Linked DNA regions of Homo sapiens: region 2 is linked to region 1. Evidence: promoter capture Hi-C in human tissues and cell types (Jung and others, 2019). All regions are on one chromosome and are shown on one strand. Each heading gives the region's core, a stretch centred on a gene start or on the middle of the fragment in contact. The rest is flanking DNA. Distances are from core to core; before and after follow the strand shown. Region 1 holds the start of PARD3 (par-3 family cell polarity regulator). Region 2 overlaps PARD3 (par-3 family cell polarity regulator).

The links. Contacts are between HindIII fragments. The study calls those that stand out against the background at their distance.
Region 2: a fragment that was not itself captured here is called in contact with the fragment with the promoter of PARD3 in region 1 in 1 of the 25 tissues and cell types used here (dorsolateral prefrontal cortex).

What each region holds. Positions count from the first base shown.
Region 1 is chr10:34,811,383-34,818,478 of GRCh38, forward strand. PARD3 (par-3 family cell polarity regulator) reads right to left here and starts at 3,914. Exons shown (of 25, transcript NM_001184785.2): 1 at 3,494-3,914. The coding sequence starts at 3,613. It overlaps PARD3-DT (PARD3 divergent transcript), which reads left to right and starts at 4,386. Exons shown (of 2, transcript NR_108043.1): 1 at 4,386-4,419; 2 at 4,738-5,040. RefSeq lists silencers at 3,153-3,432, 3,953-4,122, 4,213-4,262. The HindIII fragment of the contact is 8,052 bases long and covers 2,000-7,096 here.
Region 2 is chr10:34,769,985-34,777,080 of GRCh38, forward strand. The region is part of intron 1 of PARD3 (par-3 family cell polarity regulator); the gene reads right to left. Among named protein-coding and RNA genes, the nearest start is that of PARD3, 42 kb to the right of the region's middle. The HindIII fragment of the contact is 5,152 bases long and covers 911-6,062 here.

The DNA.
Region 1 (7,096 bases), core at 2,664-5,163:
CTGCAGATTCACACACCTAGACCCCAACTGCAGACCTCAGACCCAGAGCCCATCTGCCCCTGCAGGCAGGTGCCTCACCCAGTTAGCAAGCACTGCCCTATATCAAGGTCAGCCTTCCCACCAACCAAGCCCAGTTCAAATCCTAGTGACTAAATGAGACTCCCACACACACCCCATAATGATAGCACCCACCTCCAAAATCCAGAAGCGATTACTGACTGTATCACAGTGGTGCCAATTAATGCTACCACCTCCTGTTATTTATACTGTTATATATTCTTCCTGTCTCCTAGATTATACTTTTTTTTGAAAATTGCACGAATTCAGTCTTATATTTTTTTCATAGAGCATGACTTTTTATACACAGCAGCCCTTCAACCAACCCCACACAGCGCTGCAGCTCAGCACCATGTCCACCTGGAATCACGCGTGTCAGGTCGCAAGCGCAGAAGAACAGATGCAGACACGGTCCATCCTCCCATCCTGCGCCCTCATGAGAACGGTCCATGTAACGCGGTTCCCAATGTCTAGCACCGCACTGTCCTCAGCGAGGCTCCTAATGCAGATGGGTGGATGAGGATGAACAGCTATTCCCAACCATCAGTGATCACAACCACAAAACCATCTTTCAGGAGAGGAAAAAAGAAATGTCACACATGACTAAGCATAAGCCTTCAAATATCTACTCACTGAGGACATGTCTAGTATTAAATCATGACACTTCACTATCCAGAAAAATTGATTTGTGTAATCTGAAGAGAAAACAGCTCACATGCAATGCCAGAAAATTAGCCCCACCACACCAGAAAATGTTTACTGCAGAGAAAGCCTTGGTGATTTGAGAGTTGGGACCTTTCTCTTTTCCTTTTTATTTTTTATTTTTGGCTTGGTTGGTTATTATCCAAAGCCATAAACATGATCTGCCCACACTTTTCCCCACCAGATGGGAGCTCATCAAGCCACATGTCACCTAGCAACCTAAACACCACTCCACAACTATCCAGCCACCCAATTCTTCACACAGAATTTCTCTTGTTCTATTAGGCAATACGGATAAGGAACAGATAGAGAATAAAAGTTAAAACAGTGTTAAATACATATTAACACTTCCTCATCACTTAATATAGAATGGGAAAAGTAGTAAGAAAGACTAAAAATTAATCTTAATCATTGTCTAGCAATTTCAGAAGAAAAACGAGAAAAAGGAGACCTAGAAGACACTCCAGCTCTGGCAACATTTAAGGGTCAACAATCTTGGGATCCAATGACTGAACTTGGTATACTGCAAAGCCCCCGTTAAAATTCACCTACAGAACTCTAAGTTGTACTTAAAGAGCATGTAAGTGTTGGAACCCCTGACCCATCTCTGACCCTCCCTCTCATCTCCAACTCCCATGTCACTATCACCCTCCCTTCCTTCAGCTCATAGGCCCCTTTTCTCTTTGTGACACCTTCCCAGACACCCTTAAAAAACTGCACTCCCTTTTCTACGCCCTGTGAAACAACCACTGCTAATCGTTAATAAGGACCAGGTCCGTGACCAAGGCCCTGCACTCTAGCCACCCAGCATCCCAGAGGCCACCTCTTCTCCCCATGTCATCACCAGCTCCTTCACCTGGAGGACCCCGCAGCCTCTTGCTCAGCTTCTCACAGCCAGTGGGTCCCTTAGATGTCCAGCACCCAGAACAGTGCCATGGACACAGTCAAAGCTTCAGAATTTCTGTGGAACGAATGCCTGGAACAACTACATTTGAACTACTGCCAAACAGGCAGTTCAGCCTATGTCTATTTTGTGCAGGATGAAACATGGGACACAGTAGGTAAAACAATTTTAATCACATAAAATTAGTAAAGTGAAAGAAAATGTTGACCACCCTCTTCCTATTCAGGAGCCTAGACGTACTGCAGAGTGCATATTACTTTATTTCTCTTTCCTTGCACAATTTGTTTTGTTGGTTTCCAGAGTGCCTGAACAATTTGAGTACTCTTTTGGAACATTTAAAGCATAAACTGTCACACATAAACAACACTTAAAAATGCTAAATGTCCATTTAGATGGTTTTCTTTCCCTTTGTCAGCTTTGCAAGATAAACAGGTGCCCAATTCCCACTAATTTTATTTGATTTTCAATAAAAGAGTTCAACTGTAAGGAACATAACAGAGCTACTAAAGCCAACGTCTTCCATCCTTGTGTCGGGTCTCCAAACGTCCCCCAAAATTATCTTTAAAAGGCCAAATTTATGCTATTTTTTCCAATATATACTAAAAGCAAAACAAAAGTCTAAAAAGCTTTTACTTCTTAATTTCTGAGAGAACTGAAGATGCCACCGGAGTACCCTGTGTACGCTCAATAGGGCTGACCAAGCCACTTTCCAACGTCATTTGCAGCCCCCAAGCCCACAGGGGCCAGGCCACTGTCGGGAACAAATGGGAAATACTGCACCCAAACGAATGCGCTCCCCACCAAAGAGGACTCTACTACAAAGGAAATATATCCCCGGGTGCTTGGGAGAAACTTCAGCGTGGGCTGTTGTCAAACACAGACACAGTCGGTAAAACAATTTAACAAAACGCCTTTTCACTTCTGACACACAGTAGAGGAATGCTGTGAAGTGGAGACAATGTTATCAGTCCACCAGGAAAAAGGGAAATCCACTCAACTCCCAAGTCAGGCCCGGCCCCGCAGCCCAGCCACATGGAACCAGCCCGGGATAGGTAGGAGCTGAGGTCCTCGCAGGAAAACTTTTCATTCCGCGACTCTTCCAAGGTTGTGCTTTCCAGAGCCCAGCAAGTGGGATCAGCTCAGTAAATGCTCGCAAGCGAGTGCCAAGTGCCAGCGGTGGCCCTCCCGGGAACGCCTCCCCGACCCCAAGCCGGCGACTCCCCAAACCCTGCAGCCCCCGGACGCGACGGGCCGCCCCTGCCGGCCCCTACCAGCAGGGGACATGGAGGAAAAGCCCCCCGCCGCTGTTCCGCCCCCGCCCGAGTAAGGGAGAGGAGGCAGAAGGCTCGCAACCCGCCTCTGTCGGAAGGGCAGTCACGAAACTCTCCTCACACCAAAAGTTCCCAGTCCCCGGCCTGTGCCCCCGGGGCCTGGGAGCCGGGAAAGGCCTGGGGCTGGATTTCCCGGCCTGCGCCCCCCGCGCGCTGGCTCGGGGCTTGGCTGGGTCTGCAGACTCCGGGGAGGCGCCCAGGGCCGGCCTATGCGCCGCTGCCCGGCTCGCCCCGCGCTACCGAGGCCGGAGCTCCCGGGCGGAGGGTGAGGGCGGGGGCCGCGGGACCCGGCTGGGTGTCCCAGAGGCTGCGCCCCGGCCCGCGCAGAGAACTTTGGCGCCCGCAGTCCGGGGCGGGGGGCGCCCGCGAGGCCCGACCGGCCGCACTTTCCCTTTCCCCGCCTCCCTGCGCCTCTCCTCCCCCTTCCAGGAAGCGCCATATTGATCCCGGCGCCGTCCCCGCCGCCGCCCCCTCCCCGCCCGCGCCCCCGGCCCCTCACCTTGGCGATGGCCTTCCGGTAGCGGGTCACCGCCTGCTGGATGAGGCTGAAAACTTTCATGTGGCCGTCCCCGCACGGCACGACCACCCGGGTCCGTCCGAAGCACACGGTCACTTTCATGCCGCCGCCGCCGCGGGCGGGCCCGCGCCCCTCGCCGAGCGCAGCCGGAGCAGCCGAGGCCGGGACCGAGGACGCTGGGCGCGGAGGAGCCGCTGGGGACTCGGGCGCGCGGGCGGCTAGGGGCGCGGGCAGGCGGCGGCGACGCCGGGGGGCCGCTCAGCTCGCATGCCCGGCCCGGCCGCCCTCGCCTCGCCTCGCTTCGCCCGGGGCTTGCCTCGCCTCTCCCCGCCGCGGCGCCCGCAGCCTCCGGCCACCTGTTCGGCGTCGCGGCGCGCTCGCCGGCGGCTGCCCGGGGCTGTGTGGCGCTGGCGCTCGCTCGGGGCCGCTGGGGGAGGGGACGGCGGGAGGGGAGGGGAGGGGAGGGGAGGGGAGGGGGAGGAGCAGGGCAGGGCACACAACACCGCGCACATGCGGCAGGGGGAGGCGCGGCCGGCTACCCGCGCGGGGCGGAGCGCAGGACCGCAGCTCGCGCCCCCGCCACCGCCCTCGGGGGCCGACCTCCTTCCCTCCTTCCCTCCCTCCCTCCCTCCCTCCGGGGGCGCGGGACCCCTCGCCCCAGTGCCAGCACGGGCAGGCGGCCGTCTGCCCCCACCAGCCCTGGCCCAGGCGCCCCCCAGCCCCCTTCACCCCGCCCGCCCAGCACCCTGCAGGGCTGCGTCGCCCCTCCTCGGGGACGCCCCTTCCACGCCTCCAGAAGTCTCCACGGAGCCCCCCTTCCCCTTTCTTTGTCACTTTTAATCCCATTCCTCGAACTGGAGGGTTTTGGGTGCAGGCGCTCCCGGGGAAAGCAGTTTGTGCTCAGTGCGGTGAGTCCCCTCCTCACCGCCCCGGAGGCTCCAGCCCGAGCCTCTCCGCCCGCGGGGACTCGAGCCTGCAGCTTGCTCGGCTGGGTTTCTGCCCTGCCCGCTCCCTAGCTCTGCTGCAGGGCCGGCAGCGGCAGTTCTGCCTGAAACGCAAGAATTAATAGTCTGCTCTGGGGAGACAGTGGGGAAGCCGTGAGCGACCGGGCCTTTTCCAGAGGCCACTATTTACCTTGAAGTTTCCTGTTGACCCTCTGCTGACCCACCCGCTTAAATAGATTAGAACTTAAACATCGCAATTCTGATACATTTATTTCTTTGAAGTTCTGCAGCATAAGGAATCCTAACGCGAATCCGTGAACAGTCTATTCCGACGGCGCAGAGAAATCTCACGCGGGGATCCCCACGATGTGCCGGCGCTTAACGCAGACGCCCGAACCCAGGGGAAGGCTGCGACTCCGCGATGAGTGACATGCGGGCTTGAGACGTTCTAAAGGAACGTGGACCGAGTTAGGGAACGTAACTGAAGCTCATTTTGTCTTAGTTATGGACTATGAGTCCTTAATAAATGTATGTCATTATGTTTAAAGAATGACAAATGTCTGCAAAGAGTGGTCCCTGTCCCAAGCCCTTTCCAGACTATGTGAAATTCTTTTTTGCCAGTTGTTTCCAAGACACGTGAAAGCAATCAAGCTCCCCTGGGTTGGCGCAGAACTTGAGCACTTAAGAGCTGGAAGAGCTGGCGATCGACCATCCATCCCACTCCACCTCCAATCTTAAAACAAGGAAACAAGACACGAGGTTCGTCCGCTTGCCACACTCCCTGCGCTTTGCAGCACCGCAGCTGCCCCAGCATAGTGCAGTTTCTCCTAGGAAACATTGCCCTTCCTCTCCTCTCCCAGCCCTGGACCACCACTTTCCACCACCTGTCCCAGCAAATCAGTGCAGTGGTGTTAGCCCCATCTTACTCCAGGACATTGACCCAGGGCCAAAGTCACTTGCCCAAGGCGGCAGAGAAAGCTCAAGGCAGACCCAGAAATAGTCTAGGTTTCCCTCCTTCCACTCAGCCATGGGAAAGGCTCCTCCTACTGCTGTTTGGCTGCAGCACTAGACATTTCTAGCCAGTAATTAAGTTTGTGACAACGATGACAACAACTGTTGATGTGGGTTTTTTGCTTCTTACATAGATACTTGGATCCACAACAACAATTACTGATAATTATAGGTGTTGTTTCTGTTTTCATGCATTGGGAGAGTATACTACTAGTTTAGAATGTATACTACTTTATTTTATTTTGTGTTTTTTACATTTATTTATGTATTTATTTTTATTTATTTATTTATTTATTTATTTTGAGACCAAGTCTCGCTCTGTTGCGCAGGCTGGAGCGCAGTGGCGTGATTTCGGCTCAGTGCAACCTCCGCCTTCTGGATTCAAATGATTCTCCTGCCTCCGCCTCCCGAGTAGCTGGGATTATAGGTGCCCGCCACCACGCCCAGCTAATTATTGTATTTTCAGTTAGAGACAGGGTCTCACCATGCTGGCCAGGCTGGTCAATCCGCCCGCCTCAGCCTCCCAAAGTGCTGGGATTGCAGCGTGAGCCACCGCGCGGCAGAGAATGTATACTAGTTTTGATGCTACACTAGTTCAGAGGGGTATACTAGCTTGAGTATAATAAATTAGAGTGGGGCTTTCTCAAAATAATTCTAATCGAAAGTCATTTTTCAGTAATAACCAGAGTACATAGGACATCACACTGATCTAGGTTCAGATCCATATTTGGCCACTTACTAGTGCCTTAGACACAACAGTCACTCTTTCTCCAGCCCGTTTTATCAGCTGAAAAGTAGAGAAGTAGAGCTTATCATATCCATATCCATCTCATAGATCTCATAGGTTATGAGTCAGTCTTTCTTTTTTTTTGAGATAGAGTCTTGCTCTGTTGTTCAGGCTAAAGGGCAATGGCACAATCTTAGCTCACTGCTGCCTCAGACTCCCAGGCTCAAGCAATCCTTCCTCAGCCTCTAGAGCAGCTAAGACTACAGACAAATACCACTATGCCCAGCTAATTTTTAAATTGTTTGTAGAGATAAGGTCTCACTATGTGGCCCAGGCTGGTCTTGAACTCCTGTCCTCAAGCGATTCTCCCGCTTCAGCCTCCCATAGTGCTGGGATTACAGGTGTGAGCCACGGCACCTGGTCATAAGTTATGAATGTTAAATAAAATAATGTATCAGAAAACAGTACGGCTGGGTATGGTGGCTCACGCCTGTAATCCCAGCATTTTGGGAGGCCGAAGTGGGCAGATACCTGAGCTCGGGAGTTCGAGACCAGCCTGACCAACATGGAGAAACCCCGTCTCTACTAAAAATACAAAATTAGCCGGGCATGGTGGCACATGCCTGTAATCCCAGCTACTCGGGAGGCTGAAGCAGGAGAATCGCTTGAACCCAGGAGGCCGAGGTTGCGGTGAGCCGAGGGCAACAAGAATGAAACTCTGTCTCAAAAGAAAAAAAAAAAAACAGTACATGCTGCCACGCTGCCACATGGGAATGTATAGCGTAGTACAGTCCAGTTACCGTAATGAAGGCAGAGGGTAACAAAGTCCAGCACAGGATAGCAAATGATGACAGTGGAGGAGGCAGGAGAGATGAGGAGGACAGGAGAAGACCAAGGCTCAAA
Region 2 (7,096 bases), core at 2,237-4,736, 42 kb before region 1:
ATCTGGTTAAAATACAGCCCCAATTTCCCTGCTCAAAAATTTTCACTGGCTCCCAATGACTTCCTCAGTATTAGCGGATGGCCCTTCATCCAAGACCCTCCGGGACAGTCATTTCCTAGCCTTATCTTCTGCCTGCAGACCACATCACCCAGCCAAATGTTTCCTGCTCCTTAGACACAAGTCACCCTTCATGCTGTTTCAGTCACCATGCCCACACATCTGTCCTTCTATGAAGATCTAGTCAATGCCATCTCCTCCCAAAAGTCTTTCCTGGTTATGGCCAATCCATGATCATCTCACACCTTTGAACTGCAAAAGCACTTCTTACTGCTGATTAAAACTATCACTTTTTGCCTGGTATTCTAAGCATTCTTAAACGGAGATGACACCTCGAGCCCTCGGCTAGCCTGTAAACGCCTTGAGGGCAGCACCTCCAACCAAACACCCTGCACATAAAAGGGTTATCTGGATGTGATGAAGTAACTTGCTCCCAGACTTTTCATCCTAGAGGCCCTGAGGGTCAGGAAGAACTGTAAGTGAAAGGGAGCCATGGGCATTTCTGAGCAGGAAACTCTTGCGCTGGACCTGCATTCTGAGAAAATCAAGGTGTCCCGGCAGAGCAGAAAACGCTAGCCTTGCAGTCAAGACTCACCTGCCACTTACAAGGTATGTGGCCTTGGACAGATGACTCTCCCACCACGGACCACAGGAATCTAATCTAGAACTTTTGCTTTCAGAGTAAATTAGGAAAGGCAGATAAATTGTATCTTAAGTTCCAGTTTCCTAGGGGTATCACCTGCAATGATGTAGAGATTCCAAGACTCCAGACAGGGATGTGCCCTGTTCTCAGTTTCCATGACAGACCCGGAAAGGTGGGCAGCAAAGTGAGGCCATGGATTTGCCAGCCCTGGGCCCCGTGATCTTTAAGGTCTGACATCATTGGATTTGGAAAGGCTTTGAGATGCTCCTCTGGGAACTCAAAACCCTAAAAGTCTACAGGGTTGTTCTGCAACGGAGATGCAGAACTCCCTGTGATGGAAGACATAAAAGGGAAAGACGGAGAGACAAGAGGAAGGAGGGAAGGAAGAATACCAACCTAGTATTAAAATTGGTCACTTGAAAACATGCAAGCCCTGTGATTTTCATCAGGAAACTGCACAAAAAGTAAATTCATAATGTCTTTTAAAAGTTTGCATTCCTCTGATTAAAATGTTCTGGCTTTTGAAAGCAAATGGTGATGCTAAATGTGCTGGGCACAATGGTTACATCAGGAAGAAAGACGGTGCAGCTCAGAACGTGGCTCTGCCTGTCCCTGTGGTTTGACTCAACATTGCTCAGCCTCCCCTCTTCATCTGAGGTAACAGCAACAACTATGCCCCCCACACAGGATCACTGTGAGATTAAAGGGGTCCCACGTGTAGCATAGTGCCTGGCACATGGGGAGCAAAGAGTGAAGGAAGGCTGGCTACAGTTATTATCACCATCATCAAGATCATGACTATGTCATTAGCAGCATATTTCTGTCAGCGTGTTAATGCAAAACAATTTTTTAAAACAGAAAAGTTACACAAAACTGAGAAAGAAAAATGACGTCGGTCAGCCCGACCTAGTCTTACAAAATTACTTGCTGGCTTTTCTTTGGTGTCTGGTTTTGATGCCAGCCAAGGAACAGTTGTCACTAACTCTTTTCAATTTGGTGGTGTATCTTATGAAGCAAGAGGTGCTTAGACAAAGACACACACATGTTCAGGCTGGTATACAGAAAAGAACTGATCTGATAGAAATGAACATCCTGTGCTTTCAGGTAGAAACAAAGGAGTTTTTCAACAGAGTGAGCTCAGATCTTGTATTCTGGAGCTTCAGAGGAATACAGCAAGTTAAAATGACACTTTTTCCTAACAGCTCGCCAGGATAAGCCAATGAAGATGGGTCACACCTGGAAACAACTTCCATCAACCCCTGGCAGGGGTAAAAAGTCATTTGTGGATCCCTTTCACAAAGGTAAATACCAAGGAAGTTCTGCAGTCTGGAAGGTAGAGTGGCCTACATTCATCTCGCCCAACAAGCAGAATGCAAGATGCACCCCTCCAGGGGTTCCTGCTTTCACTCACAAATCCAGAATGCCCTGGTCAGTTCTATAGCAGAAAACCCAAGCTCACTGGGCGTGGTGGCTCACACCTGTAATCCCCGGACTTTGGGAGGCTGAGGCGGGTGGATCACTTGAGCTCAGGAGTTCGAGACCAGCCTGGCCAACATAGTGAAAGCCCGTCTCTACTAAAAATACAAAAAATTAGCAAGGCCCCCTGTAATCCCAGCTACTTCAGCCTGGGTGACAGAGCAAGACTCCATCTCAAAAACAAATAAAAAATAAAAGGACTTGCATTCCTCGAATAAAAGTTATTTTCTCATTATCAATTGTAAACCTGTTTTTAAATGTTGATACCAACTGACAATATCAAATGTAAGACAGTATCTTTAAATCAAAGTAAATACAAATGATCTAAAGCTTTAAAATGAGGAATACACGCCGGGCATGGTGGCTCACGCCTGTAATCCCAGCACTTTGGGAGGCTGAGGCGGGTGGATTACTTGAGCTCAGGAGTTCGAGACCAGCCTGGCCAACATAGAGAAACCCTGTCTCTACTAAAAATACAAAAAAATTAGCCAAGCGTGGTGGTGGACGCCTGTAACTCCAGCTACTCGGGAGGCTGAGGCAGGAGAATTGCTTGAACCCGGGAGGCAGAGGTTGCAGTGAGCCGAGATCGCACCACTGCACTCCAGCCTGGGTGACACAGCAAGACTCCATCTAAAAAAAAAAAAAAAAAAAAAAAACTATTTCTACATGGTTCTATAGCTTGTATTCTCAACGGAGCAAGAAAGCCTGTAATAAATACCTTTGCAAATACAGAACACTCAGCAGATGGAATGTGAACTTTAAAATATGCCCTTAACATGTTACTTTACCAAAATTACTTCTCATTCATACCCAGGCATCTTGGAAAGCTACATCCATTTACACAGCAAATGAGCAGTTTGTAGAACCACACGGCACACCAAAAACAGCTGACACATCTCCTTGGATTTAAAACAAAGTCATCCCAGCATCTCATTTTCATCCTACCATAGCCTTATCTAATTCTTTAATGTTCTCTTTACTTTGATGAGGAATTTAATTATAAACAAAAAAAGAGAAAATACATCTATAAACGCTTGCCCCACAACTAATAACACTTAGATATTATGTTAGTTATAACATGTTTAACCTTGTTCTCATCAGTGTTCATTTAATGTTTTACCTTTTTTCACTTGGCCTAGTACAAGCATGTTTCATTCTGCTATATAGACTCTATGTTGTTTCTTCTAATGAATAACCGTGGCTGACTTCACCATTTTCCTCTTGTTGAACTTCTGAAGCTATTCTAATGGTTTCGGAAATTAAATAATGTGGGACTGAATATCCTTACCCATAATTTCAGTTCCCTAGGGATAACAAGTATTACAGAGGACTGCAAGGGCATGAACATTTTTGTAGATCTTGATAATCATGCCAAATTGCTGTTCCGAGAAGATGCAGTCTTTTACACAACATCACCAACAACGTCCAAATGCACCAGGCCACTGTGACTTTGCAGCGTCAGGTATGTTAATCATTTTTGGTTTTGCCAATTTAACAGGATATAGGATAATATTTTAACTTTTGAGTCTCTGAAGACTAGGTTTATTCGGTGCTTTTCTGTGGCTTTTTACTGGTTAATTCCCTCCTTTGTGAATTGCCCACTTGGGTCCTTTGGGCAAACATCCACTAGGCACTTAATGTTCTTCTCATAAACTTGATGGGGTTAAAGTGCCTCATAATTGTTTTGCATTTTCAATTAGAAGCTTTCATAATATGAAAGAATAATAGAGACTTAATTCCATCACTGATTAGTTGGATAAATGTTCAGAAGTAAACCAACATTATCACTACCCCCAAGGACTCCCACCTCTGGGAAATAAAATGTGCTTTACTTTAAGCCAGTGGCTTTCCAAGTTACTAAACACAGTCCACATTTCTCACCCACTACTGCTTTCCACTAGAACAAACTCAGTGATAAAAATGGACTATCACCACGTAAACAGAGGGGAGAAAATACACACCTATTTAGAAACAGAGTCACAAATGAGTCATATTTTAACAGCAAAACATACCTGACTTCAATTCTCATTATTAGGAAATTATAACTCCAAAGCACTACTGATGCTAAAAACACAGCACTACATCCTATAGATCTGGCCAAAGAACTCTCCACAAACTGCACGGAGTCACCTTTTAGGCAAGGCTTGGCTTCTAAAATCAAGGCTAAGGTTAAGACAAAATTATCCTTGAAAATTACTTAAATAGCACACACAGTAAGCACATGTGGTTTTCTGAGTGCTGCATTACCTTTCACAAAGCCTAACCCTGCCAATTTTCCTGCAGCATTGGAAGGGATTGCTGTTTCTATGGTTGAATACCAGAAGAAACGCATCTGGCCTGTATTTAAGGAGATGTTGCATGAAAAAAATACATATTGTTAATTATTTTTAAGCAAACATTGAGACTTGAATTAGTATAAGTTAAATGCACATGACACAATGCAACTGTAAACTGATGATAAAGACAAATGAACTAATTTATAATTTAAAACCAAAACAAAAGCAGCAATTGAAAACCACAACCAACTCAACACTACACTGATCTTATACCAATAAAACATCCTTCTCACAATTGGCTTGAATTAAAACTACCTGCATGCACATATGTCATTGCTTTGCAATCCTGCCAAGTACTAAGTGACATCCAGACTTTAGAATACTGAACTGAAATCATCAATGAAATCTAGCAATTTCACTGGTATCTGTATTTGATATAATTTTTCATTTACAGATACCAAATTTCAGTGACTCCTGGAAGTTTACCTAGTTACGAAGATGTATGTAATAGTAGAACCCAGTGGAGGATTTACATCAACACTCAAGGTTTCTCAGTAATTGTGCTCTGAAGTCACCGCTGTGAAAACAAGTGCCAAACAAATAAAGGAAACAAAAAATATGAGCAAAAGTGGGCATTTTTTAAAGTCACAAATCCTTTCAGTTTGGAGACTTACACAACATAGAAGCAGCATAGAACCCAATATTTCAAGCTCATATGACAGAGCAGCTGCTCAAAATACAGCAGCACTCTAAATTTATATACTACTGAACCAAGATTGACCACCAAAAGGAACAAATCAGTCAGGCATGGTGGCTCACACCTGTAATCCCAACAGTTTCGGAGGCTGAAGCAGGAGGATCGCTTGAGGTCAGGAGTTGAGACCAGCCTGGGCAACAAAGCAAGACCTCATCTCTGCAAAAAAACTAGCCAGGCATGGTGGTGTGTGCCTGCAGTCCCAGCTACTTGAGAGGCTGAGACAGGAGGATCACTTTAGCCCAGGAGTTTGAGGCTGCAGTGAGCTGTGATGCACAACTGCACTCCAGCCTGGACATCAGAGCAAGACCCTATCTCAAAAAACAAACAAAAAGAAAGGACAAGTCTCCTTACAGGACCAAGCCTGGGCAGGCAAGCAGAATGCAAGGCTGCCAGTTCAAGGTGCCCTTTGTCCAAACAATCTACTACAAGAGATATATGCGTGAGAGAATGAAGAAATTTGGGTGCAAATATAAAGGAAAGCAAAGTAGATGAAGTATTGCTATGAGAGTTTGTCACTTACTGCCTAAAGAAACCAAAGAAGTGGAGAGAACTCTCTCATTTTTTTAAACCACACAAATTTGTACAGAATCAAGATGTAAAGAGAAATCTGTAGGTATTATTCTAGAATTTAAAAGACATATCATAAGAACTCTTGACCCACCTCTGAAAAAGCAATAAGCAAAGCTATCATCCTCACCACCTTCATGCTTTTCAATTAATAACTTTGTTCATTTTACAAAGTAATATATGGCCAGGCATGGTGGCTTACACCTGTAATCCCAGCACTTCGGGAGACCAAGGCAGAAGGATTGATTGAGCTCAGGAGTTCGAGATCAGCCTGGGCAACACAGTAAGACCTTGTCTCTACTAAAAATTTATATATACAACCCTATAGGCTCATGGTTGAAATTTTGGAAAAGTACGAAGCCAATAAAATTCATCCATAACTCTGACCAAAAAAGAATTGATCAGTTAGGCAGCCAAGAACCCTGGAAGAAAGTGAGAATATAATTTTGGAACTAGTAACAAGAAGACAAGGGAACAATAAACCCAGCAGGACACCATCTCTAAGCTCTGAGAACTAATTTTGACAAGTCCAAGAAAAATATACCTCAGACACCTACAAGAGATTACTATTTATGTGGCACAGGAGACACTAACATACGACAATCTGAGAAAGACAGAATGGCATGATCCAAAGCAATTAATCTGACTGGCTAGGGAGCTCAGTTTTTAAAACAGCAGATCTAAACACTTCAGGGGCCAGCACATGGCCAGGGAGGAAACAAAAATGTGGTATGAACCACAGGGAACTTTGTCAGAAGACAAATCCAGAATTAGCTGAAGTTCTTGAACAATTTTTTTTTTTTTTTTAGTAAGCAGAGGAAGGACAGCAAGGTTTTAAGCTATATTTGGGGCCAGGAAGAGATAAGCTACAGATAGAATACAGCTCCTATTAACTAATCATATGTTCTCTTGGTCTTTCACAACAGAAGAATCTTCAAACTAGTGAAGGAACAACATTGTGAGCAGAAAATTAGAAGCCTCCTCCCATCCGAATTCCACCATTGGTGGAAAAAGAAAACAAAAAAAAACAAATTAAGGAGACTATTTCCAAGTATTTTCAGTCGTGTTTTTTTGTGGGGGGGGGGGGCGGGTGGGGGATGGAGTCTCACTCTGTCGCCCAGGCTGGAGTGCAATGGCACAATCTCAGCTCACTGCAACCTCTGCCTCCCAAGTTCAAGCGATTCTCCTGCCTCAGCCTCCTGAATAGCTGGACTTACAGGCATGTGCCACCATGTCTGGCTAATTTTTTTTTTTTTTTTTTTTTGTATCTTTAGTAGAGACACGGTTTCACCATGTTGGCCAGGCTGGTCTCAAACTCCT